Linked DNA regions of Homo sapiens: all the other regions are linked to region 1. The links are contacts of gene promoters, found by promoter capture Hi-C in blood cells and fetal thymus (Javierre and others, 2016). All regions are on one chromosome and are shown on one strand. Each heading gives the region's core, a stretch centred on a gene start or on the middle of the fragment in contact. The rest is flanking DNA. Distances are from core to core; before and after follow the strand shown.

Region 1 (4,789 bases), core at 1,309-3,808:
CACCTCACAAAATTCTAAACACAGACTGACATTCTCACCACTAGAGCATTTTGTCTGCAGAGATTTCTACCATAATTCAAATGTATTACCTTGTAGAAAGGACCTATGCATTCATTGACAGGAAAGCAGAGATCTGGCTTGGAAGAGCAAGTGGCACAAGACAGCTGAGATTCAAATCAGGTTGAGGGCTAAGAAGGTCGGAGCAGGTGGCCCACGGGGCCTAAGCGAGGGCCTCTGGGGAGCAACAAGGAAGCTGGCTCTCAGGGTATGATACTAAAAGCAAGAGGGTTGCAAGAAAGCATGACCCCAAGTGCACAATTTCTAAGCCCAAGGGTCTGCATCAGGGTTTTCCTCAGCCAAGGTCAAACCTCAGCATCTGCACACAACATCTCCTTTTTGAGTATGAAACAGGTAAAGAAAGAAGGAAGTGTGGGCATCTGGTGAAAACTGACATTTCCTCTACATCCTGCAAAAGCCACCCCAAGAGGATCCTCGCACCCTGCCCCAGGCACACACAAGCTATGGGTGGAGGGCTGGCCCAGTCCACCTCCTAGGGTTGCTGTATGGGCAAACATGATGGGCTTAGATAGGTGGTTGGGGCGAGGTGTGGAGGGAGTGAGAAGAAATCAAACGACTTCCGGGGTAGGTGGCCTATGGGGACAAACCAGTAATGAGACAGCCCAGCTCCTGGACCCTGGTGCTGTTCTATGAAGATTTCATGCACAGCTCAGTTTTCACACTGGAAGCAGCAGGAGCACTTCCAGAAGGGTGGCCTGACATGCAAAAGTGAAAATTCATGGGACGGTGAAGGGAGTACAACCTAGAGGGCCAGCATACGGGCAGCAAAGGGGAGATGGAGCTGGCAGGTAGCCAGGGTCTTTCACTAACCAGGTGCTGGCAAGGCCTGGCTTTTGCTAAACAAGACTGTGTCTTCTCTCATCTAGTGTGCAACCTGTACAACAAATCACTCCTGCAGATTCCCCCTCCTTTCACCCCCTTTTCCCTGATAAGCTACTGGCTTCCCTCAGAAGGACAGAGAAGAGCAGAGAGAACACACACACACACACACACACACACACACACACACACACACAAACTATTTTTTAAGTGTCTCCTTTGGAATAACATCAATAAACATATTCTTCATTTAACTTTAGAACAGTCCACCAGAGTGGCTATTTGCACACAAGGATCCCCAAGCACCAGAAAGGTGAGCACCTTGCTCTGCAAGTGGAGGAACTGAGATTCAAACGCAGACCCGTGTGCGTCTTTACTACACCAGCAAGAGCCTGGGTCCTATTGACTGGGATCCTGACCAGCTTGGAGAGCACTGAACTCATCCCAGCAGGCCCGGGGCAAAGGACCATTGCTAGGAGGGACAGAGTTTCTTCTCAGTCAAGGAAGCCCTCGACCACAGTCATCACTTACAGCTTGCGTTTGCTTAACCCACGGAGCACTCCCAAACGACCGCTCCCGGGAGGAAGGACATCTTACCCAGAGCTCTTCACGTCTGTCCAACCCCTGGATGGCTTCCTCTAATTGTGCCCCAGTATGCTCCACCCCAGCTCTGTAGGGAGAGAAACCTCCTAGAGGGGAATGAACATGGTCTGCAGCAAAAGGAAGCCGGTCCCTTTGTGGCTAAAACACCCTACATTCAAGGGAGTCAGGAGAAGATGGGTGTAGCGAATGTGGAGAGAAATTGGGCGTTACTGGAGTTTAGTCCTGGAAAGGAACTTGGGGAACCGCAGGCCCAGAGAACGAACTCATGCAACAAAACCAGTGAAGCTGAGGAAAGAGGACTAGACTAGTTCTGGTCCCCACTCTGCTGCTAACAAGCTGTGTGACCTTGAATGAATTATCCGCTCCCCACTCTCTGGGCCACAGCATTCCCATTTATAACAGGCAAGGGTGGACCCAATGAGTTCTAAGGTCCCTTGCAGCTTTCATTCAAATAGTTTAGGGAAAGGACAAAAAGGAGAGGAGCCCCCTCCTGGTGCCTGTCTTTTTATTTCTGATACGCCAGGCTACTTCTCTGCTCCCTTCTTTGCAAGCTCCGCTCTTGCCCCACCCCAGGACTCAACATTCCTAACTCTCTCTAGCTTAACCATGATGCCTCAAATGCTGTCATGCTCATAGGTGGTAAGATAGCTGACCTTCCTGCAGCTGCACTGTTCCCCACCCTCCTCTCCACAGCCCTCGGAGGACTGAAGCATCCCCTGCCCCACCTCAGCAGATGGTCAGCCAAGTCCTGCTGCTTCCCGAAGTCTGCTTACCTTCTCCCTGTGCCAGGAGTGTGGGGAGGAGCAAGGCGAGCAGCGCCTGCTGGACCCACAGCAGCATAGCGAGCTTTCCAAGCATAGGAGTGCCTCCGAGTGCTCAGGACGAGGCCCACCAAGGGCCAGCTTGCCTGCCCTCTGCCAACCTCATGTCCCAGCCAGCCTGCCTCTCGTGGCCACTGCTCACACCTTCTGAGGCTGCAGCCTCACACTCCCTGGGCCACCAAGGTTGGGGAGCTGCCAAGTTTTCCTGCAATCAGTCCTTCAGCTGGATCATGTTTCAGGCGGGAGGAAAGGGGAGGGGACAGCTGAGAGGGGAGCCCGCCCTAGCTGATGTCATGCTGTGGGAGCTCAGTCCACCCATTCAGCCAGGGGGCTTGGCCATGTTTCCCCAAGGAGTAACTTAGGTGGGGACAGGGGCTGCAGAAGCCCATGAGACAAGGGTGCAGCCTGACCCCTGGGAGGTGCACCACGCTGCTGCTTTCATTGATGTCCCTTGGCAAGTATGTTTCTGTGGCACTGGGCTGGGGCAGGATAGGGTGAGTCAGGCAGGAGCAGGAAGACCATTCTTTTACTCCCCAGGGTGACATAACCAAGCAGGTGACTGGGCACCTCTGTAGTTACGGGAAGGGTAACTGGAGTCACCACAGGTCTGCCCTTTTGTCCTCATCTAATTAGTTATACTTAAATAGTAAAATATATATTAAAAATAATAAAATATATAATAAAAATAAACTTTTACTATACATATTTATTTCATGCATTCTTGCCATACATAATAAATACATATAGTAAAAATAATAATAATACATGCACTTTGTAGAAAAATATGAAGAAAAATTAAAATCATCTGTAAACTTATGACTCAGAGACAGCCACTCTTAACGTTTTGGTATATATTCTTCCATAATTTTCTTCAGTAATGTGTATACAATGAAGTAAATATCACATACATATAATTTTGTGCCCTCTTTTTTTGCTTGATATCATTTCGTAAGCATTTCTTTTCTTTTCTTTCTTTCTTTTTTTTTTTTTTTTTGAGACAGAGTCTCGCTCTGTCACCCAGGCTAGAGTGCAGTGGCGCAATCACTGCTCACTGCAGCCCCAACCTCCCCCATCTCAGCTGATCCTCCCATCTCAGCCTCTTGAAGAGCTGGGACTACAAATGCGAGCCATGCCTGGCTAATTTTTGTATTTTTGGTAGTCCCCCAAAGGGACTAGAGGCATGAGCAATCACACCTGGCCTCGGAAGCATTTTCAATACCTTCCTCTTAAATGGAAGCGTCTTTCTTGAAAGAAGTGTTTCTTTCTTCATTGCAAGTTAAATAGACAAGTATCTATCCCTCAGGCCTCAGCTGTGTACCCCTAAAGTTGCCTGCAAGAAGAATTACTGTGCATTTTTATTTGAAGGAGTCCTACCCTAGCTCACCATTTGGGTAGATGTCCCCGTACCAATCAAGTTAAGTATCAACAACAAAACATTTTCTTCCTTTTTAATTTATTTTCCACTTGACTCTAAGTGTGGAATAGGCTAGGAACCCTGCAGTAAGGAGGAATTTTCTGAATTGTAGGTAAGTTAAAAAGAAAGAAAAAAAGAAAGAAACTACCTTGGTCAGGGCTGCATCCTTTCAGTTCTTATTCCTGTGCATTATGAAATCTGCATAAAGCATTATACCATTCACCATTGGGGTCCTTTCCTGTGGCCGTTAGCGGGGTGTGGTTCTGCAACGTGCAGTCAAGTTCAGGGAGCCTGGGCTACTCTTCTCTTAAGTCATGTGCTTCATCACTGCACAATCCAGAAAAACATGGACAATTAGCTCCAAGCATTTCCCTCAGGGGAATGGATATGAGGGCAGTGAATAGAAAGAGGGCCCCAAACTTTTAGAGAATTTATAGAGCCAGACCTCCCCAGAATTCCAGAATGAATGTCCTCAGACCTGAGGTTTGACAGCAGGATAAAGCAAGGCAAGAAGAACCAGGCTGCCTCCTAGGCCACCAGGCTGAGGTCTTGAATGGGGCCCAAGCAGAACACTATAGATTCCTAAATGCATCTTCAAGCCCAACAAAGATTCTTTTTTCTTTTTTTTTTTTTTTTGAAACAGGATCTCACTCCATCACCCAGGCTAGAGTGCAGTAGCATGATCACAGCTCACTGCAACCTCAATCTCCCTGGCTTAGGTGATCCCTCCACCTCAGCCTCCCAAGTAGCTGAGACTACAGGGGCATGCTATCATGCCTGGCTAATTTTTGTATTTTTAGTAGAGACAGGGTTTTGCCATGTTGCCCAGGCTGGTCTCAAATTCCTGGGCTCAAGCAATCTGCCCGCCTCGGCCTCCCAGAGTGCTGGGATTACAGGCATGAGCCACTGTGCCTGGCCAACAAAGTATTTAAGCTCCCACTGACGTCTAAGTGGCCATTAGCACTTAGAAATCTGAAAATTTCTAGACGACTTTCTCCTCCTGTTTATGTGCATTATGAAATCTGCATAGAGCATTATGCCATTTGTTGATGGG
Region 2 (4,789 bases), core at 1,623-4,122, 330 kb before region 1:
AGAGAAATGGGAGTGGCTGCTAATGGGTACAGGATTTCTTTTGAGAATTATGAAAATGTTGTAAAATTGATTGTGATGAAGGTTGCACAACTCTGAAAGTATACTAAAAACTACTGAATTTCGCAATTTAAATGGGTGCATTAATTGTATGGTATGTGAGTTTTATCTCAATAAGCTGTCATATTAAAAGAGAGAGAGAGAGAGAGATGAGCTTAGCAAGGTGTTGATTTGGGGGAATTCCTACCAACCACTAAACTGGTATCTACATAGAAAACAAAAATTATCCTTGGTTGGGTCTACCTGCTCCTTTATCAAGGCTAGAAATGGTAGCAGGGTGACCACTTTGTCCTGATTTGTCTCAGACTTTTCTAGTTTTAGCACTGAAAAATCCCATATTCTAAGTCCCCCTTGCAGTCCTGGACAAAGCAGACAGTCATTCTAAGGTGGGAAACTAGTTACAAAGCTACCACCCAGCCTTGATACAACATGGAAGTTTTCATAGAACACTTTAAGAATAACAACAAAAAGAAAAACACTGTAGAAGTGTGTGAGAAACATGTATTTGAATAGACAAACTAATCTAGAACAGAAAAACTTAAGTAACCTATCTGCACATAGGAATAATAATAAAGTGTATATCAAAAGGTAGAGTAGTGACAACATAGTGTTCTGGGGGATGTGTTTCGGGATGATCCTGTATAACGGGAACATTGTGGAAATGTGTGTTTGATTCCAACAGAAGCAGAACGAACCTCCGTGCCCTATTGCGTATTAAGCTATTTGAAACACTTGAGTTACCACAGAACTAGAACTTACCAGTCAGATGATGATGCAAATTGTTCCCAAACTGTGAGCCACACTGTGAAGTCTCCAAAGCTCACAGAGAATGTGCCAATTTGAGAGGGAAATTTGCTAGAAACACCCAGTGTCATAGATCCCTGCTTGTCCTTGGACACACAGCAAACATTGGGGAAGTCAGTTGCCAAGGTAGCTGTGTAAAGCCTGCATACACCTCGGGGCAACGCAGGGAAATGGACTCACCAGAGACCCAGCCAATTACTACTTTGCCTCATGTTTAGCTCATGGGGTAGGTAATAAACACACACCGGGAAAGTGCTATGCTGTTTTGCAGAAAGCTAACAGCGGTGTGGTCATTTCTTTAGTTCTAAAGGTCTGCCCTTTCAAAAGAATCAATATGCAAAAAAAGGTAGCCCTGTCCTCTGTAAATATGCATCTATAAAAGCCTGAGGGGTATGGGGAGGAAGGGAGGGAGGCAAGAAAGGATGAAGAGGAGGGCCCCGGGAAGAACCCTTTCTGAGAATGTCTTCCCACATTCCAGGTGAACTATCCTGAGATTTAGAGGCGGTTCCTCCTGCCCTGTCTCAGCAAGGCTGGCAGTGCATCAGAATCTCCCTGACAAGCTGTTTTTCATTGTCCTCACATCCCCAAAGCCCCATCCTCAGAAGTTCCTGCAGGCTCTCCTGAGAAAGAACCATCAAAACAGGTCAAGGAAATCAAGGCTAAGTAAGCGTGGAGGTCACTGTGAGAATTGTACGGGCAAGGAACAATCATTAGTGCATCTTTGACAGAGACCACACCCCACACCCGAATCAGGTGAATGATATTCTAGGAGGAAAAGTCTGAAAAGCAAAATGTGAGTATTCATGTATTTTCCAAATATGTTTTGAACCTCTACTATGTTCAGGAAATAGGCTGGGCACTGGGGACACAAGGATGAACAAATGAGAAACAGATTCTAACCTCATGGAGATTGTAGACGGGTGGGTGGCGGGAGAAAGCATTAACCCAGTGATCACTCATAGGAGTGGAAATTAAAACTGACAAATGCAAGGAAGGAAAGGAGCATGGCACTAATGGGGAGATGTTGGGAGCTCCCCTTGACCTAGAGGATCAGGAAAAGCTCCTCCAAAAAGGAGTCGGGCAAGCAGAGATATAGAGGATAAATACGTAGGAGTTAACCAGACTGAAGCAAGCAGGGAGGGCGGGAGGAAATTCCAGTAAGAGGAAACCGCAAGTGCAAAGGCCACGTGGTGGCAGGAAACACAGGAGGAGAGAGCCAACGTGGCTGGATTGTGGGGAAATAGGTTGGCAGAGCCAGACTAGGCAGGGCTTTGTGGACCATGACAGGAATTTTGCTTTTCATTCCAAAAGCTCTGGAGAGTCACTAGGGAGCACTAAGGAGGAGAGTGACATGATCAGATTTACATTTTGAGAGGGTCACTTGGGCTGCAGAACAGAGAAGAATTGAGTGGAGGGGCAAGAGTGGAAGTGGGAGGCCAGTCAGGAGGGAGACAGGGGTAGCTGAGACCAGGTGATGGTAAACACGGGAAGAAATGGGTTACAGAGGAAGTCAGGAAGTAAAATGGACAGAGCTTGATGTTAAGTTAGATATGGAACATGACAGAGAGGGAAAGGACAAATTGACTTCCAGGTTCTGGCTTGTCCAATTTATTATATGATGGTGCCATTCAAGGAGCTAAGAATACCAGAAATAAAGCAGATCTGGAGCAGATGGTAGCTCTGTTTTGGACACACTGAGTTTGAAGTGCTCTGAGACCTGTGAGTAGAAATGTTTACAATTGAGGAAATAGCTAGTTGAAGGTTTCTTAACCTGCCCTGTGAATTTTCCTGGGGAGATAAGGTGGCAAGAGCACCTATTTAAGAGAGAGGCATCCTTGTAAAAGGCGGGAATGTTTCCTAGGTATCACTGAAACAATCATCATGATCATCAAGATCCTGGTTTTGAAAAAGCTTATCAATATCCTTTTGCAAGCTGTGAAAGTCCAGAGATGCTTTGGAATAGAAGTGGTTCACTAGTTTGTGGAACACATTTGGCACAACTGTGTCTATTTTTGGACAACATACAAACATCTTTTTAAATAGAAATGGAGGTCTTTGCACAGAGAGCATTTACCTCAGAGAACTGCCACCTCGACAGGGGCCTAAGCTTTCTTCTGTCAGGTATGCTGAGGTTAAGAGGAGCACACTACCTGACTTCAAACTGTACTACAAGGCTACAGTAACCAAAACAGCATGGTACTGGTACCAAAACAGAAATGTAGAACAATGGAACAGAACAGAGCCCTCAGAAATAATACCACACATCTACAACCATCTCATCTTTGACAAACCTGACAAAAACAAGAAATAGGGAAAGGATTCCCTATTTAATAAATGGTGCTGGGAAAACTGGCTAGCCATATGTAGAAAGTTGAAACTGGATCCCTTCCTTACACCTTATGCAAAAATTAATTCAAGATGGATTAAAGACTTAAATGTTAGATCTAAAACCATAAAAACCCTAGAAGAAAACCTAGGGAATACCATTCAGGCCATAGGCATGGGCAAGGACTTCATGTCTAAAACACCAAAAGCAATAGCAACAAAAGCCAAAATTAACAAATGAGATCTAATTAAATTAAAGAGCTTCTGCCAGCAAAAGAAACTAGCATCAGAGTGAACAGGCAACCTACAGAATGGGAGAGAAATTTTACAATCTACCCATCTGACAAAGGGCTAATATCCAGAATCTACAAAGAACTTAAACAAATTTACAAGAAAAAATCAAACAACCCCATCAAAAAGTGGGCAAAGGATATGAACAGACACTTCTCAAAAGAAGACATTTATGCAGCCAACAGACACATGAAAAAATGCTCATCATCACTGGTCATCAGAGAAATGCAAATCAAAACCACAATGAGACACCATCTCACACCACTTAGAATGGTGATCATTAAAAAGTCAGGAAACAACAGGTGCTGGAGAGGATGTGGAGAAATAGGAACACTTTTACATTGTTGGTGGGACTGTAAACTAGTTCAACCATTGTGGAAGTCAGTGTGGTGATTCCTCAGGGATCTAGAACTAGAAATACCATTTGACCCAGCCATCCCATTACTGGGTATATACCCAAAGGATTATAAATCATGCTGCTATAAAGACACATGCACACATATGTTTATTGTGGCACTATTCACAATAGCAAAGACTTGGAACCAACCCAAATGTCCAACAATGATAGACTGGATTAAGAAAATGTGGCACATATACACCATGGAATACTATGCAGCCATAAAAAATGATGAGTTCATGTCCTTTGTAGGGACATGGATGAAGCTGGAAACCATCATTCTGAGCAAACTATCTCAAGGACAGAAAACCAAACACCACACGTTCTCACTCATAGGTGGGAATTGAACAATGAGAACACTTGGATACAGGGTGGGGAACATCACACACCGGGGCCTGTCGTGGGGTGGGGGGAGGGGGCATGGATAGCATTAGGAGATATACCTAATGTAAATGACGAGTTAATGGGTGCAGCACACCAACATGGCACATGTATACATAAGTAACAAACCTGCACGTTGTGCACATGTACCCTAGAACTTAAAGTATAATAAAAAATTAAAAAAAAAAAAGGAGGAGCCACTCTCTACAGAGGCAACCAGGAGGTGGTCCATGCCCCACCTGCTGTCAAGAGGGCCAAGGAAAACAGCTTGGACAGCATGCCTGCAACTGATTCCCACCCACCTGTGTGTGTGCCCTGGCACACCTAGAGGGAAGCCCTGCTCCAGACACCAGTGCTTCTTCTACTGTAATGTGCATACCACCCTTAGCAGATCTTACAGTGAAGGTTCTGATTCTGTAGGTAGCTAGTGGGGCCTGACAGCCTGCATTTCTAAAAGCTCCCACGTGTTGTCAAACTACTAGTCCAGGGACCACAAGCCTAAGCTATGCATTCCAAGTTCCAGGAACCATAGGT
Region 3 (4,789 bases), core at 1,108-3,607, 310 kb before region 1:
GAATTTTCCAGAACTGATGATAAATACTGTATCAGAATCCAGTCAGGAGACAGAAACCCACCTTAAACTTGAGTCAGAAATTATTAATATAAAATTTAGTATAAAGAATTGACTAAGTAAAAAGTGGTTAATGGCTAAGAGAGTAAAGGTGGACTCTGGAGTGTAACAGAGGTGGCAAATGCAGAAACTCACTGGGCTGACAGAACAAGGAAACCAGGAGAAACTTAGAAACTTAGAGGACGAGTCCACAGAACCAAGCATCAAAAAGCTCTGATGAGAAAGCACAGCTGCTGCGGGAATGCTGGACACCTGAGGAACCCAAGGAATGCCACCGCAGAGATGAGCCGTGCATTGAGCCAACAGCTGCATGCAGACAACCATCGCCAAGATTGCTCACAGGATCATAAGCCCACAACCAGACCTCAGAAACAAAACAAAACAAAAACCAAACAAACAAAAAAACAGGACATGGTAAGTCCCTTCCTCCTCCTCAAGCCTTGCATGTCCCTCCAGAATCTCTCACTGGTGGAACCAACATAGAGACACTGGCAAAGGAAAGTTGTGTGTGCAAAATCCAATTTGTAAATCTGTCCAATTTGCAATTGGAGGATAGGCTAAAAGAAATTGTGCAAAATGTAGCAGAGGGAGAAAGGGAAATGGAAAAAATAAAAGAGAAAGCTAAGAGACATAGACTAGCTCTCACACCACAGAGTACAGAAGGGTGGGTTGGAGCTATGAAGGAATGTATTAAGAACTGACACAGACATCAATACACAGAATCCAAAATAGGTAGTATTTATTGAGCACTTATTTGTGCAAGTACTGTTCTATATGTGCTTTACACATATTAACTCATTTAATCATTGTAACAGTCTAGGAAGGACTATGTTTAGAAGTCCAGTGAATCACAAGCAAAATATTTGAAAAGCAATTCCCTCCTAGACATTTTACTGATAAAAAACTGCAACACCAAAGACTACAAAAGATGTTAAAAACATCTAGAGAAAAAACACAAGTGATAGTTACACTAACAGCTGACTTTGCAGGACTAGGAAGCTTGCTAGAAGACAAGAGAATGATATTGTAAATGTGCTAAAACAAAGCAATTGTCAACTTAGAATTCTACAACCAGAAAAAGTCTTTGAAGAATTGGGACAAAATAGAGAAAGTAGCGGGCAAAACTAAAAGCTTGCCACTAGTACGTCCTCTCTAAAGGAAGTTCTAAATGATGAATTTCAGACAGAAGGAATGTGAACCCCAGTGGAAGGTCTGAAATGCAAGAAGGAATGAAGAATTAACTGAGAAGGCCAACATGTGGGTGATTCTAATAGACATAAAAAATAATGCCTTGTGTGGTTAAAAATAAGAAAGATGGAATTAAAGTGGCTGAGCCCTAGTTTTCCACATTAATCCCCCCTGCATCAGATTGCTTGCTTTCCCTGTCTCACTTCCCCATTCCCTCACTGGTGCTTAGTGGGATCCAAAATAAAATACTTACACTCCAATTTTAGACACCACAAAATAATATAATCAAAGTGTATTAACTTCCAAATTAGTAGAGCAGAAGAACTAGAATGACAAAATACTATCAATTCGAAAGAAGATAAGAATGGAGAGAAAAAGAAACAGCTCTTTAAGGACAAATACAAAGCGTAAAATAAGAAGATATTTGGTTGAGGATTAAAAACAGACAAAAGCATCAGTTAAAATATGTATTACATGAACAGCAGGATTAACCAACTTGATTTAATGGACATATACAACATAATGCACCCAAACACCCACTGCTATGATTTGAATGTTTGTTCCCCATCAAATTCATATGTTAAAATCCTAACGCTCAACATAGCAGTATTAGGAGGTGGGGTCTTTTGGGAGGTGGTAGGTCATGAAGGTAGAGGCCTCATGAATGGGATCAGTGCCCTTATGAAATAGGCCCGAGAGAGCTCATTCACCCTTTCACCACATGAGGACACGGTGAGAAAGTGCTATCTACGAAGAAGGAAACAGGCCCTCACCAGACACTGAATCTGCTGGTGCCTCAATCTTGTACTTCCCAGCCTCCAGAACTATGAGAATCAAATCTCTGTTGTTTACAAGCCACCTCGTTTATGGCATTTTGTTAGAGCATCCCAAATGGTCTAAGACACACATTTGTTTCAAGAATACATAGGCCCTTAATAAATTCTTACATACTAGCCCATTAAGCAAGCCTCAACATATTTCAAAGGGCTGAAATGATATAGGGCTTGCTATTTGACCAATGCATTTAAGCTAAAAGTAAAAAATAAAAGATAACTAAAACACCCTTATTTGTTTGGAAATAAAGAAACAAACAACCTATGGGTCAAAGAAGAAATCATAATGGAAATTATAAAATATTTCTAACTGAGTAGTAATAAAAATACTACATATAAAAACTCATGAGTTGCAGCTAAGGCAGGATTTAAAGGGAACTCTAGTCCTCAAATATGCATACTAGTAAAGAAGAAAAACTGAAAGTTAATGAGCTGAGGAAGTTAAGAAAGGAGCAGCAAAATAGACAAAAGTAGAAAGAAGAGAATCCTGCAGAGCACAAAAGCTAAGAATTAATGGGAGAATCAACAGGTCCAAAAGTTGGTTCTCTGAAAAGATAAATACAATTAACAAATTTCTAGCTAGAATGATCAAGGCAAAAAAGAGAGAAGGCTCATATGCCCAGTGTCAGGAATAAAAAGGGGAACCTCATGGCAGATGCTGCAGACATTTAAAAGATAATAACAAGATATTACAAATAACTTTATGCCTATACATTGAAACATTAAATTTAGAGGTTTCCAAATAAATATATAACACATATAAAATCTGAATTGCCTTATAACCATTAAAGAATTTAAATGGAAAATTAGTTTCATACAAAATCTTCAGAGCAGATGGCTTTACCAGTGAATTCTACCACATATTCAAGTAATCAATAATTCTAATCTTACACAAACTCAGAGAATACAAAAAGAGAAAATACCCCTCAACTAACTTTATAAGTCTAGCTAAAGCCTAATATCAAGGTTACTTATGAGAAGAAAAAAATTACAAGCTAAAAATCACCCATGAGCATGAGTATAAAAATCCTAAACAAGTTATTGTCTGGTCAATAAAGTAGCAAATATGTATATGGTGCTTACTATTTTTCAGGAACTGGTTTAAGCATTTTGGACATATTACTAAAATTTACAGAAGTTTTGTGAGTTAAGGGCTATTATTATCCCCATTTCAGCATATGAGAAAATCAAGGCACAAAAATGTAAAGTAAATTGCCCAGGTCACGCTGCTAGACAGTGGTATAGCCAAGTTTTAGACCCAGGCAATCTAACTCAAGAGCCTAATTTTCTAGCAGCTATACAATGGCCAAGGTGAGTGTTTCCCAGGAATACAAAGTGATTTAACATTCAAAATTCAATTAATACAAATCATCACATGTACATGTTAAAGGAAAAATATCTTCTGATCCATTCAACAGATGCAGAAAAAAAAAAAAGAAAAAGCTTAAATTCTATATCCATTCACAACAAAAACAATCCTTGCCAAACTGGAAATAGAATAAGACTTCCTTAATCAGATAAAGATTACCTACAAAAACCTCAACAAACATCACTCTTCCCGATGACCCATTTACAAGCTTTCCTTTCAAGTTGAACAGAGACAAAAATGTTAACAAATACCAATTTCATTCAACATCCTGGACAGTACGGCAGGTTAAAAAAAGGTTAAAAATGTAAGTATTGAGGAGGAAAAAGAAAAAACTGTTACTATTAGCAGATAACATGATGATATAGAGAGAGAATGAAAAATAATCTACAAGTAAATTATTACAATATAACAGTTTAGCAAAATATCTGGATATGAAATCAATATAAAAATTAAATTCATTTCTAATCAGCAACAGCTATACAATGAAATTTAAAACAGACATTGCCCACAATGGCACTGAAAAATATGAAGTACCTAAGAATAAATCCAGCAAACTATGTATAAGACATTAATGGAGAAAATAATAAAATTTTATTGAAAGACATTAAAGAAGACCTAAATAAATGGAGAAATACGCCACTTCATGGATGGGGGGACTCCACATGGTGAAGATGTCATTTGTCTCCAAATTGATTTATAGACTCAGTAAAATCCCAATTAAAATCCCAATAGTTTTTTGGTGAAACTTGACAAGCTGGCTCTAAAATTTATATGACAGTGCCAAGGGCCAAGAGTAGTTACTCTTAAAGAAGAAAAATAAGGTGGGAGGACTTGCTCTACCAGATATAAATACTTATTATAAAGCTGTAGTAATTAAGACAGAGTAGTATTGGTAGTAGGATTGACAAATAGACCAATAGAACAGAGTAGAGAGCCCATAAACAGACCTGTACTTTTATGAACAGTTGATATATGATTGAGGTGATAGCTTAGATCAGTGGGGAAAAAGATAGACCTTTCAATAAATAGTGCTAAGATAATTGGGTATCTGTAGGGAGGAATAAGGAATTAGAACCCCACCTCACATTATGCACAAAAAACAATTCAGGCAGATTAAAAAACTAAATATGAAGGGCAAAACTCTAAAGATTTAGAAGGTAATGTAGAAGAATATCTTTATGACCTTGGGTGCAGATAACGATTTCTTAAACCAGACACAAAAGCCATGAATCATGAATAAAAGATTTGTAAATGCTAGTATATTACAATTAAGAATGTCTGTTCGACCAAAGACACTTTAAGAGAGTGAAGAGACACTCTACAGAGAGGGAAAAGATACTAC
Region 4 (4,789 bases), core at 858-3,357, 290 kb before region 1:
TGCCTCCCTGCCCACTCCCAAAATTCATATGTTGAACCCCTTGGCCCCAATATGACTACTGCATTTGGAGACAGAGCCTTTACAAAGGTCATTCGGAGCCGAGCATGGTGGTTCATGCCTGTAATCCCAGAACTTTGGAAGGCTGAGGCAGGTGGATCACTTGAGGTTAGGAGTTAAAGACCAGCCTGGCCAACATGGTGAAACCCTGTCTCTGCTAAAAAAATACAAAAATCAGCAGGGTGTGGTGGTGCATGCTTTTGATCCCAGCTACTCGGGAGGCTGAGACAGGAGAATTGCTTGAACCTGAGAGGCAAAGGTTGCAGTGAGCTGAGATCCTGCCACTGCACTCCAGCCTGGGCAACAAAGCGAGAAAAAAAAAAAAGAACTAAACAAAAAGGTAACTAGGGTTATATGAAGTCATAGAATAGGGCCCTAATCCAGTAGGATTGCTATCCTTATCAGAAGAGGGAAACACACACAGAGAAAAGGCCATAGGAGGACACAGTGAGAAGGTGGCCATCTGCAAGCCAAGGAGAGAGACCTCACTAGAAACTAACCCTACTGGCACCTTGGTCTTGGACTTCCAGCCTCCAGAACAGTGAGAAAATAAATTTCTGCTGTTGAAGCCGCCCAGTCTGTGGTCTTTTTTTATGGCAACACTACCAAACTCATACACTCAGACGGGAGTAAGGGAAATCACTCTCCCTCTGCTTACGATACTCTGGGCTGTGAAACAACCATCAAAGCATTGCTTCTGCTCCAGCACCACATTGAGAATAGAGATGAGTCTGGAGTCTTGACACTTTCTAGGCTATGCCCAGGGAAAGGGCACAGGTTTCCTCTGTTCACACGTTCCTAAGTAAATGAGAATATAGAAGATATTAAAATGTAATTAATAATTCAAATCTAGTTAATTCACGTATTGAATGCTCTAATCTAAAAATAGAAAATATACCTTCTTTTCAAGGTACCCATGGAATATTCACAAAAACTGATTATATAAAAAGCCTCAAAGAAATTGTTTAAATTCTCAAAAGGTAGAAATAATACAAAATATTCTCTGATCAAATTGCAACAAAATAAATATTCATTACAAAAACAAAAGACTCTACCACCCGGAAATTTTAAATTTTTTTCTTAAACATTTTTGGACCAAAGAAGAAACCAAAAAAATTGAAAATTCTCTAGAATTTTTTAAACTCTACACATAAGAATCTATAGGACACTAAGGAGAGGAAAATCTATGACCTTAATTAATTATATTAATAACAGAAGATAATTAATACATGAATTAAGCATCTAAACCAAGAAGTTAAAAAAAGAATAACAAGTACATTTAAATAACATGCAATGACAAAATTAATAAAGATAAAAGTCGACACTAGTAAACGAATAAAGTAATGAGTACAGAAGCCAGAATGCAGTGATGGAGTGAGCTGGAGGTGAGAGGGTGGTGAGGAAGTGCAGACAGAAAATGCAAACAACACCTCTGAAAGCTTGGCTGTGAAAGGGAAGAAAGACAGGGCAGTAGCTAAAAGTGGATGAGCCTCTGATAGAGAAACACTAAATATTTTGACAGTGGAGGAAAGGCAAGGACAGATGCCAAAACAAGTCAAATTTATAAGGGATGAGTAGAAAACTGAGCTGAAAATGATGTTTTTCCTGAAAATAATGAATAGGGAGGTGCAGGTGTTTGAGATTCGGACAAGAACTCTATGGAAAACAGAAGGCAAAAACTAGGGAAATACAGAATTATTAGGGATTGTTGAGAGCCCAGATAACTTGACAGGAACTCAGTCTGCCCAGAAGTTGGATTTTCTGCAGTGTGCTGAGACGTCTTGGTGCAGAAGAGAACACAATGGATTAAGGTAAGGTTGAGACTTTTCTGGCAAGGAGAACAGAAGTTAAATGGGTAAGAAAGATAGAAGAGAAAGCCTTCACTGCATTCATCCAAAATACATTAATTAAGCAGCTATTATGTAAGATAATAGGTTGATGTATAAGAGCACAGAGTCTGGAGCTAAACGGCCTAGATTCAAAATCTGGCTCTAGCACTTACACAATGTGTCCATGGACAAGTTATTTAGTCTCGTTTTGCCTCAGCTTTTTTTTTTAAAATGTGTGAAAACACAAGGATAATAATCTACCTCTTAGAATTTGTGAAAGGATTAAATGAACTAATTCAAATTTAAAAATCAGAACAGAAATTTTTCTTCTGGCCATGACAGAGTAACAATTACTGGAATTGCCTTTCACCATAAACAACTACGAAACTGGACAAAACCGGACAAAACCTATGACACAGCTGCTTTCAGATTCCCAGGTAGCATGCCCACAAATTCTGATTCAGGAGCTCTAAGGCAGGGAACCAGCTGTTTCAGTTTTTTTTTTTTTTTTTTTTTTTGAGACGGAGTCTCGCTCCATCGTCCAGGCTGGAGTGCAGTGGTGCGATCTCGGCTCACTGCAAGCTGCGCCTCCCAGGTTCACGCCATTCTCCTGCCTCAGCCTCCCGAGTAGCTGGGACTACAGGCGTGTGCCACCACGCCCAGCTAATTTTTTGTATTTTAGTAGAGGCAGGGTTTCACCTTGTTAGCCAGGATGGTCTTGATCTCCTGACCTCGTGATCCGCCCACCTCGGCTTCCCAAAGTGCTGGGATTACAGGCGTGAGCCACCGCGCCTGGTCTGTTGTAGTATATTTTTAAGCAATCATAAGCTTGGTTGCATGGCTGGTTTGGGAACCATGGTAAGTCCCATGTATGGAGGCTGACCCTCTCCTAACAAGCTCCAGAGGATGCAAGATAAAGAGGGAACTCTGTGAACAAGTGGGAGGACTGTACAGATGTTCTGCCTAGCTGGGAGAGGCTGGAAAAAGGACTAAAACAAAAGGTACAATTAGCTCATCTGTGAAGTTCCCTTCAGTTGTCACACTAGGGACCCTGTAAGAGGAAACAAGGTCACTGTTGATCTTGTAGCTCCCAGGTGTCTCAGAAAGGTCAGCGATGTCGCCACTCCACTGGCCTAAAGCTGGGTTAACCAGATGACTCTGCTCCATAAGGTCTCTTCAGATCGTTTCCTCCTTTTACTCCTACTACCCAGCCCCATTTCAGGCCCTCATCATCTCATAACTGAATAGATAATAATAATCACCGCTTTCTACAACAAGTTAACAGCATGGGGAAAATGAAACTTAAGAGAAATAACAAATCGATGCAGTATGTGGGTATGATTTGGCTCTTAATTCAAATAAATCAACTTTAAAAAGTTATTTTTGAAGCAATCAGGAAAATCTGAATACAGACTGAGTGAGGATACGGAGGAACCATTCCTAATTTTGGAAAGATATAAATGGCACTGAGGTTAAATGAGAAAAATTCATTTTGAAAAATGCATGAATTGGAGTATGTCGTGGTGAAACAACACGATGTCTGGGATTTTCTTTAAAATATTTCAGCAGAAACAAAAGACAGGAAAAAGAAACGAAAGACAGAAAAGGAACAAAAGACAGAAGAATAGGTGAAGCAAGTGTGGCAGAATCTGGATGATGTTGAATCTGGGTGACGGGCATTATGTGGGGTTGATCATATTATTCTATTTTTATGTATATTAGAAATATATGTAATTCATTAAAAATATTAAAATATTTTTAACAACGAACTAATACGGTGGCTGGCATACAATGAGTATTATGTAGGTATTGGCATTTGTAGTCATAACAATTGTGTGGCAAGCACAGTTCATAACATCAAGGATATGGTGGCAGACAAGGCCCTGGCTCTCACAGGGTCCACATGCAGGAGACTAGGACATGAACCATGACAAGTAAACAAATAAAGAAGATCATATCAAACAGTGGTAAATGCTAGGAAAAACAAACTTGATTTTTATTTATTTGTTTATTTATTTATTTGAGATGGAGTCTCGCTCTGTCACCCAGGCTGGACTGCAGTGACGTGATCTTGGTGAACTGCAACCTCTGCCACCTGGGTTCAAGTGATTCTCTTGCCTCAGCCTCCTGAGTAGCTGGGATTACAGGTGTGCACCACCACGCCCAGCTAATTTTTGTGTTTTTAGTAGAGATGGGGTTTCACCATGTTGGCCAGGCTGGTCTCGAACTCCTGACCTCAGATGATTTGCCTACCTTGGCCTCCCAAAGTGCTGGGATTAAAAGTGTGAGCCACCGTGCCCAGCTGAAAACAAACTATAGATGGGATGGTTTCTCAGTCTATTTTCTCTTGTTATAACTAAATATCATTTTTCAAAGAATAAAAGTTTATTCAGCTCATGGTTTTGGAGGCTAGGAAGTCCAAGGGCATGGCACCAGCCATCTGGTGTGGGCCTTTATGCCGTCTCATCACATGGTGAAAGAATTGCATGGCAAGACAGAGCAAGCAAGCCAGAGAGAGCTTGTTTTTCTAACAAAGCCACTATCAAGGTAAGAAACCTACTCCCATGATAATATTAATCCATTCAAGAGGGCAGAGGAATTAAGTTTCCAACACATAAACTTCTGGGGGACACATTCAAACCATAGCAGATGGTCAGGTAAGACCCCACTGAGAGGCAATATTTGAGCTAAGACCCAAATTATATGTGAAGGAGGCAGCCATGCAAAGATATGGGGTGGGACTGGGGGTGGGGGTGGGCAAGGAGCTCTTGGCAGTGGGAACAGCACATGCAAAGGCCTGTCCTGTTCTGGAAACAAATGAATCACAGTGAGGCTGGGTATAGAGGTGGGAAAAGAGTGGAAGAAGACGGTCAGAAAGGTAGACAGTGGCAGGTTTATTTAGA
Region 5 (4,789 bases), core at 790-3,289, 260 kb before region 1:
CTAAGCACCTGGAGCCACGCCCCATCTCACCAGCAGTCAGGAAGGCTGAGCAGGGAAGGAGAAAAACAGCCAGCACAGGATTTTGCTCCTGGCCAACAAAAAGCAGGAAGGAAGGGGAGCGAATCTAGGCGTTATGCTAGGTACCTTATCTATGTTGTCAGTTCATTTAAAACTTGCAATCCTACAAGGCAGGCATTCTTATCCCCCTTTTTACCAGTGTAAAAGAGAGATTAAATAACTTGCCTAAGATCACACAGAAAGAGGCAGAGTTGGGATCTGAAAATATCTCGGTTTGTCTTTCAGAAACCACGGGGCTGGACTCAATGCTACCTCTGGAGCTGACTGCCCGCCTGTCTGGGCTTACCCTGGAAGAGGCCCAGTAAGGATGGTACAGAGGACTCCTGCCTCTAGTACAGCTCCAGCAATGGCTAGAGAACCCCTGGCCAGGAGTGGGCAGTAGCTGGGGCTGGGTCACAAGGCATAGCTCTCTGAGGCCTTCCAATCCCACTGGGAGCCACCAAGGTCTCTCAGAAATGCTGAGTAGTCTACTCAGCTTCACTTGCTGGAGGGAGACATAATGAGAGATGTATCTTTCTGGACAGAAGCAATGCCAAGAGTTGACAGTGAGTCTTCAATGTCCCTCCCTGCTTGGCCGACGTACACAGGAGGACAGTGCATCTGCAATGCGTTCTGTGCCCGGTGGCCCCCACTCCTTCAACTTGAGAGCCCCCAGCATCTACTCCCTCTCTGCCCTTAACCCCCACCCCACAGAGAGCCCAAATTAAGCCAGGTGTTCAAACAGCTACCTTAAATCAGTAGGGTTGAGTAGGCTTTGGAGGCCAGCCATGCCCTTTAAGAGCCAAGGCTTCTCCTTATGCATCCTCTGAGATCCCCGGCATGGAAGGAACCTGGGCAGAGGGAACATGAATGGCATTCCCAATAGGACATCTCAGCCTATACAGCCAGACCCACAGGTGCTCTGAGTGTCAATACACCCAGCAAGGCAGACTGCAGCACTCTGCCCCCTTGGCCTTTCCAAGGCCCCTCGATACTGCCCCACTATGCTGTCCCTACTTCTCAGGGTGGCCTGAACCCACTTCATGTCCATTCAGCCAACTCACTGAGCCACTACCAAGTACAGGCACTGTGCTAGGTGACCAGGGGCAGGCTAAGGCTGAGCAGAGAAACTGGGTCCCAGACTAGTGGGAGATGCTGAGTTAACAACCACCCAGAGGGTAAGGCAGGGCGACTCCAAGAGCTCCTGAGATTTTGAGTTAGGCTTTTAAAAGTTGAGTATCTGAGAAGCAAAGGACAAGAAGTTGGGACACATGTGCCAGGCTAAGGAGAGAGACACCACTGGCAAATGTCAGAGCAGATGGGGCCAAGGTCAGGCCCTGGGGATGGAGACAAGCTGGGAGGGTGATGGGAGTCAGATCAGAGGGCTGCATATGCCAGGCAGGACAGGTTGGACTTTATTCTACAGGCAATGCAGTGCCATGAAAGGACCGAGGGTTGCTATGATCCTAATGTCTGGGTCCCCCTCTGATTCCTTTTTTGAAATCCTAACCCCTAAGGTGATGGTATTAGGAAGTGGGGCCTGGGAGAGATAATTAGGTAATTAAAATGGAATGAGTGTCCTTGTAAAAGAGGGCCCAGAGAGCTAGCTAGCCCCTTCCACCACGTGAGGACACCGAGAAATCAGCAGTCTGCAACCAGGAGGAGGACCCTCACCAGAACCTGAACATGCTGGCACCCCAATCACAGACTTCCCAGCCTCCAGAGCTGTGAGAAATGCATGTCTGCTGTGTATAAGCCACCCAGTCCGTGGCAGTTTGTTATAGCAGCCTGACTTGACTAAGACGAGTGGTGCTAGCACGATCTGACCTGTGTTTGAAGCCAGTGACTCTGGGCACACATGGGGACCAACAGCAGCAGCAAGCGGTTAGAAGCAGCGAGAGGGCTGATGGGCCACTGGAGGAGGGTAGGGACCAGACCAGGGCAGAGGCTGCCAGGGCAAAGGGAGAGAGAAAATCCTAGAAAGGTGGGACAGCAAGGGAGGAGTGGCACGCAAAAAATCCCAGATGGCCAGTTCCACAACTGGCCAACAGGCTGGAAGTCATATGGTCACCAGCTGGAAAGGAAACACTATGATGTCCCTACAGTGGTCTCTCTCCCCTTCCTGGGACATTCCACAAGGTGCAGGGGTGCTCCTTGGTCACGTATCCACCAACCAAGGCTCCCAGGGGAAGAAAGGGGAGCCTCTGAGACTCAGCATCCACTTTCCCCATTTTTCTGCTTAGAAACTAACAGCTATGATGATAGAAAAGTATTTTTAAAAAAATGGAAAAGTGGGGGAGATGTGGATGAGACACAAGAAAAGCTATTGGTGCATGCGAGTTAAAAATCTAGAGACTAGATGTGAGTTATTAAACAATTTGCTGGCGTTTCAGCCTAGCTGATTGTTCGCATGTATGATGAGTCAGGGCAGATTCTATTACACTGGGAGATTAAGCAAATAAATGCTAGCTTTTGGAAACACATTAAAATGTGGGACTATGGAAATAAAATTATCTAGAAAATTGTATTAGCAATTCATTAGCTGCAGTGAGATGTGCGGCGGGGCAGGGGGGCCCGGCAGCACTGGAACGCTCTGCTCCCTTCAACGCCTGGGTTCCGTCCTCTGCTATGGAGAGACGTCAGGCCTGGTACCACTGGGGAGAGGGGAGGTGCTCTGACTGGATAAACGAGACCCTCAGAAGTCAGATGGTCCACATGACACAGGGGAAGGAAAAGCAGCACAGGGGTCCCAGCTCTCCCACATACTTGCCTTGTGGCCCCGAGCAAGTCATTCTTTTCACCAGATCCATTTGCTCCTTATCTGCCACTGTGGTTATCAAGAACATCGAATGAGATATCCACACGAAAAAACTTTATAATGTGGTCACAGAGCCAATGATGGCCAAACAACACCTTCATCTGAATTAGAAAATCACGTCTCCTCCTCTGGCCAGCCCCACAGACCTGGCTGCATATTTATGGTGAGTACAGAGAGGGCAGGGTTTTGGGATCTTCCCTCCTCAGCTGGGCACCCTTGTGCAGTGAACGACCTGGATCATGAGTCATGGCAGCCCTGCACAATACACATGCCTAAGCTGTTTTGTTGTCTTTGGGCTGCTACTTTCTGGGAAGCTGACCCTAGAGAAGGCATCTTTGAGGAGTTACACCACTTAGGATTCAGTGCCAACAACACCATCTTCCTCTGAGCTCTGTTGTATCACGTAAAGCCCTGTATTGCATTTATTTTGGACTTTCAGCTCTGCCTAATAGATTATAAGCCTCCAAAGTAGGAACTATTGTATTCATCTTTATATTCCCCAACACACAGTACACAGCCTGATATGGAGTAGGCACTTAATAACTGCATGTTGAATTAGAAAATAAATAAGGGGTTGTAAGACAATCACAAAGGGTAGAGGAGGAGGTATGAGGAGAGTCATGGTACAGACAGAGGGCTAGGGATGAGGAAAGTTCAGACTACAGTCCACAAATGAAACCACTACTAAGAGCATCCAACAAGACTCTCCTTGGAAATCAGTAATGACAAGTGACCCACAGGCAGCGGATCTCACTGAGGCCCCCCGTGTCTGTCTGGTGGGCTGGACAGGACTCCTTCGTTGTCACTCCATGTCTGAGCTCTGTTGCTCGGAAGCAAAAACCCAGACCATAGAAGGATCAGTTTTGCCATATTATACAGTGAAACAGTCCAAAGATCCCAATTCTGGCCCAGAGGTACAGCCCTTCTTGGATTTGTGATCCTAGTCCAGGCAGTGGTTGTCCTTAACCTTGGTTTCTTCATCTAGGATAAGAGAATTCATAACTAACCTGCCCTTTCCAACCCTAACTTCATAGCCCTGTTATGATGCAACTGACAAATGTTTTTGATTATGTAAATCCTAAAAATGTATTGTTTTCTATCAATCTGTACATTTCAATGTAAATCAGATATATAAGTCAGCTTTGACCCAAGAAAATAATTTTTCAGGTCAAGGAATTAGCACCTCTGCTGTTCTGAAGAATGAATGGGACTCAGTCTTAGCCTGGACTCCCAGGGTATCTGCTCAAAGGGAATCTGAAGTAGGAAAAGGGGATGCATGTAGAAAGGATGATGCTATCGAGACTCAAGGAACATGACTCTTAGTAATATGGGCAGGATCCATGCAAATATCTGGGACCACATTTGCATCAATTCTATCTCCAGAGAAGGTGACCCACACCAGACCCCCCAGTGGCAACACTGCCAGTTTTGACTACAGGGCATGTATGACTCAAAGTCTTCCAATTTAAAACAAGCTTAATTTTAGCAAAAAAAAAAAAAAGGAGAAGGAAGGAAGGAAGGAACGAAGGAAGGAAGGAAGGAAGGAAAGAAAAGAAAAGAAAGAAAGAAAGAAAAAGAAAGAAAGAAAAGAAAGAAAGAAAAGAAAGAAAGAAAGAAAGAAAGAAAGAAAGAAAGAAAGAAAGAAAGAAAGAAAGAAAGAAAGGAAGGGAGAGGGAAAGAAAGAAAGAGAGAGAAAGGGAGAAAGCCAGGCCAGGGTGGAATAGTAGGCAGAAGGGGTGACACAGACCTAGGGTATTTCACCCAGGTGATGACGGGGTCTGAAATTATGAAACACAAAACCCCTCATGTTTACACCTGTGCCATTTCCATACCAATTATCTCTTTAATAGATGGGAAGGAAGAGGATCAGAGGGGTACACAGCTGGAGAAGATGTTCAGGTGCTACACCTTCTT

What was found. Contacts are between HindIII fragments. The CHiCAGO score rates a contact against its expected background, and 5 or more counts as called.
Region 2: a fragment that was not itself captured here is called in contact with the fragment with the promoter of HTR3A in region 1 in 7 of 17 cell types (fetal thymus, total CD8 T cells, monocytes and 4 more); the score reaches 8.3 in fetal thymus.
Region 3: a fragment that was not itself captured here is called in contact with the fragment with the promoter of HTR3A in region 1 in 6 of 17 cell types (monocytes, total CD8 T cells, erythroblasts and 3 more); the score reaches 6.6 in monocytes.
Region 4: a fragment that was not itself captured here is called in contact with the fragment with the promoter of HTR3A in region 1 in 12 of 17 cell types (total B cells, total CD8 T cells, naive B cells and 9 more); the score reaches 9.6 in total B cells.
Region 5: a contact is called between a fragment that was not itself captured here and the fragment with the promoter of HTR3A in region 1, in 12 of 17 cell types (naive CD4 T cells, naive CD8 T cells, M1 macrophages and 9 more). The highest score is 7.6, in naive CD4 T cells.

The regions. Positions count from the first base shown.
Region 1 is chr11:113,972,877-113,977,665 of GRCh38, reverse strand. HTR3A (5-hydroxytryptamine receptor 3A) reads right to left here and starts at 2,558. Exons shown (of 9, transcript NM_000869.6): 1 at 2,274-2,558. The coding sequence starts at 2,340. RefSeq lists enhancers at 1,674-2,333, 2,334-2,995. The HindIII fragment of the contact is 9,568 bases long and covers 1-4,789 here.
Region 2 is chr11:114,304,998-114,309,786 of GRCh38, reverse strand. All of the region lies in intron 2 of NNMT (nicotinamide N-methyltransferase), which reads right to left. Among named protein-coding and RNA genes, the nearest start is that of NNMT, 11 kb to the right of the region's middle. The HindIII fragment of the contact is 196 bases long and covers 2,775-2,970 here.
Region 3 is chr11:114,287,167-114,291,955 of GRCh38, reverse strand. It overlaps a transcript of NNMT not described here. Among named protein-coding and RNA genes, the nearest start is that of NNMT, 6.8 kb to the left of the region's middle. The HindIII fragment of the contact is 2,333 bases long and covers 1,191-3,523 here.
Region 4 is chr11:114,266,384-114,271,172 of GRCh38, reverse strand. It overlaps a transcript of NNMT not described here. Among named protein-coding and RNA genes, the nearest start is that of NNMT, 28 kb to the left of the region's middle. The HindIII fragment of the contact is 1,218 bases long and covers 1,499-2,716 here.
Region 5 is chr11:114,235,379-114,240,167 of GRCh38, reverse strand. All of the region lies in intron 4 of ZBTB16 (zinc finger and BTB domain containing 16), which reads right to left. Among named protein-coding and RNA genes, the nearest start is that of NNMT, 59 kb to the left of the region's middle. The HindIII fragment of the contact is 4,626 bases long and covers 1-4,352 here.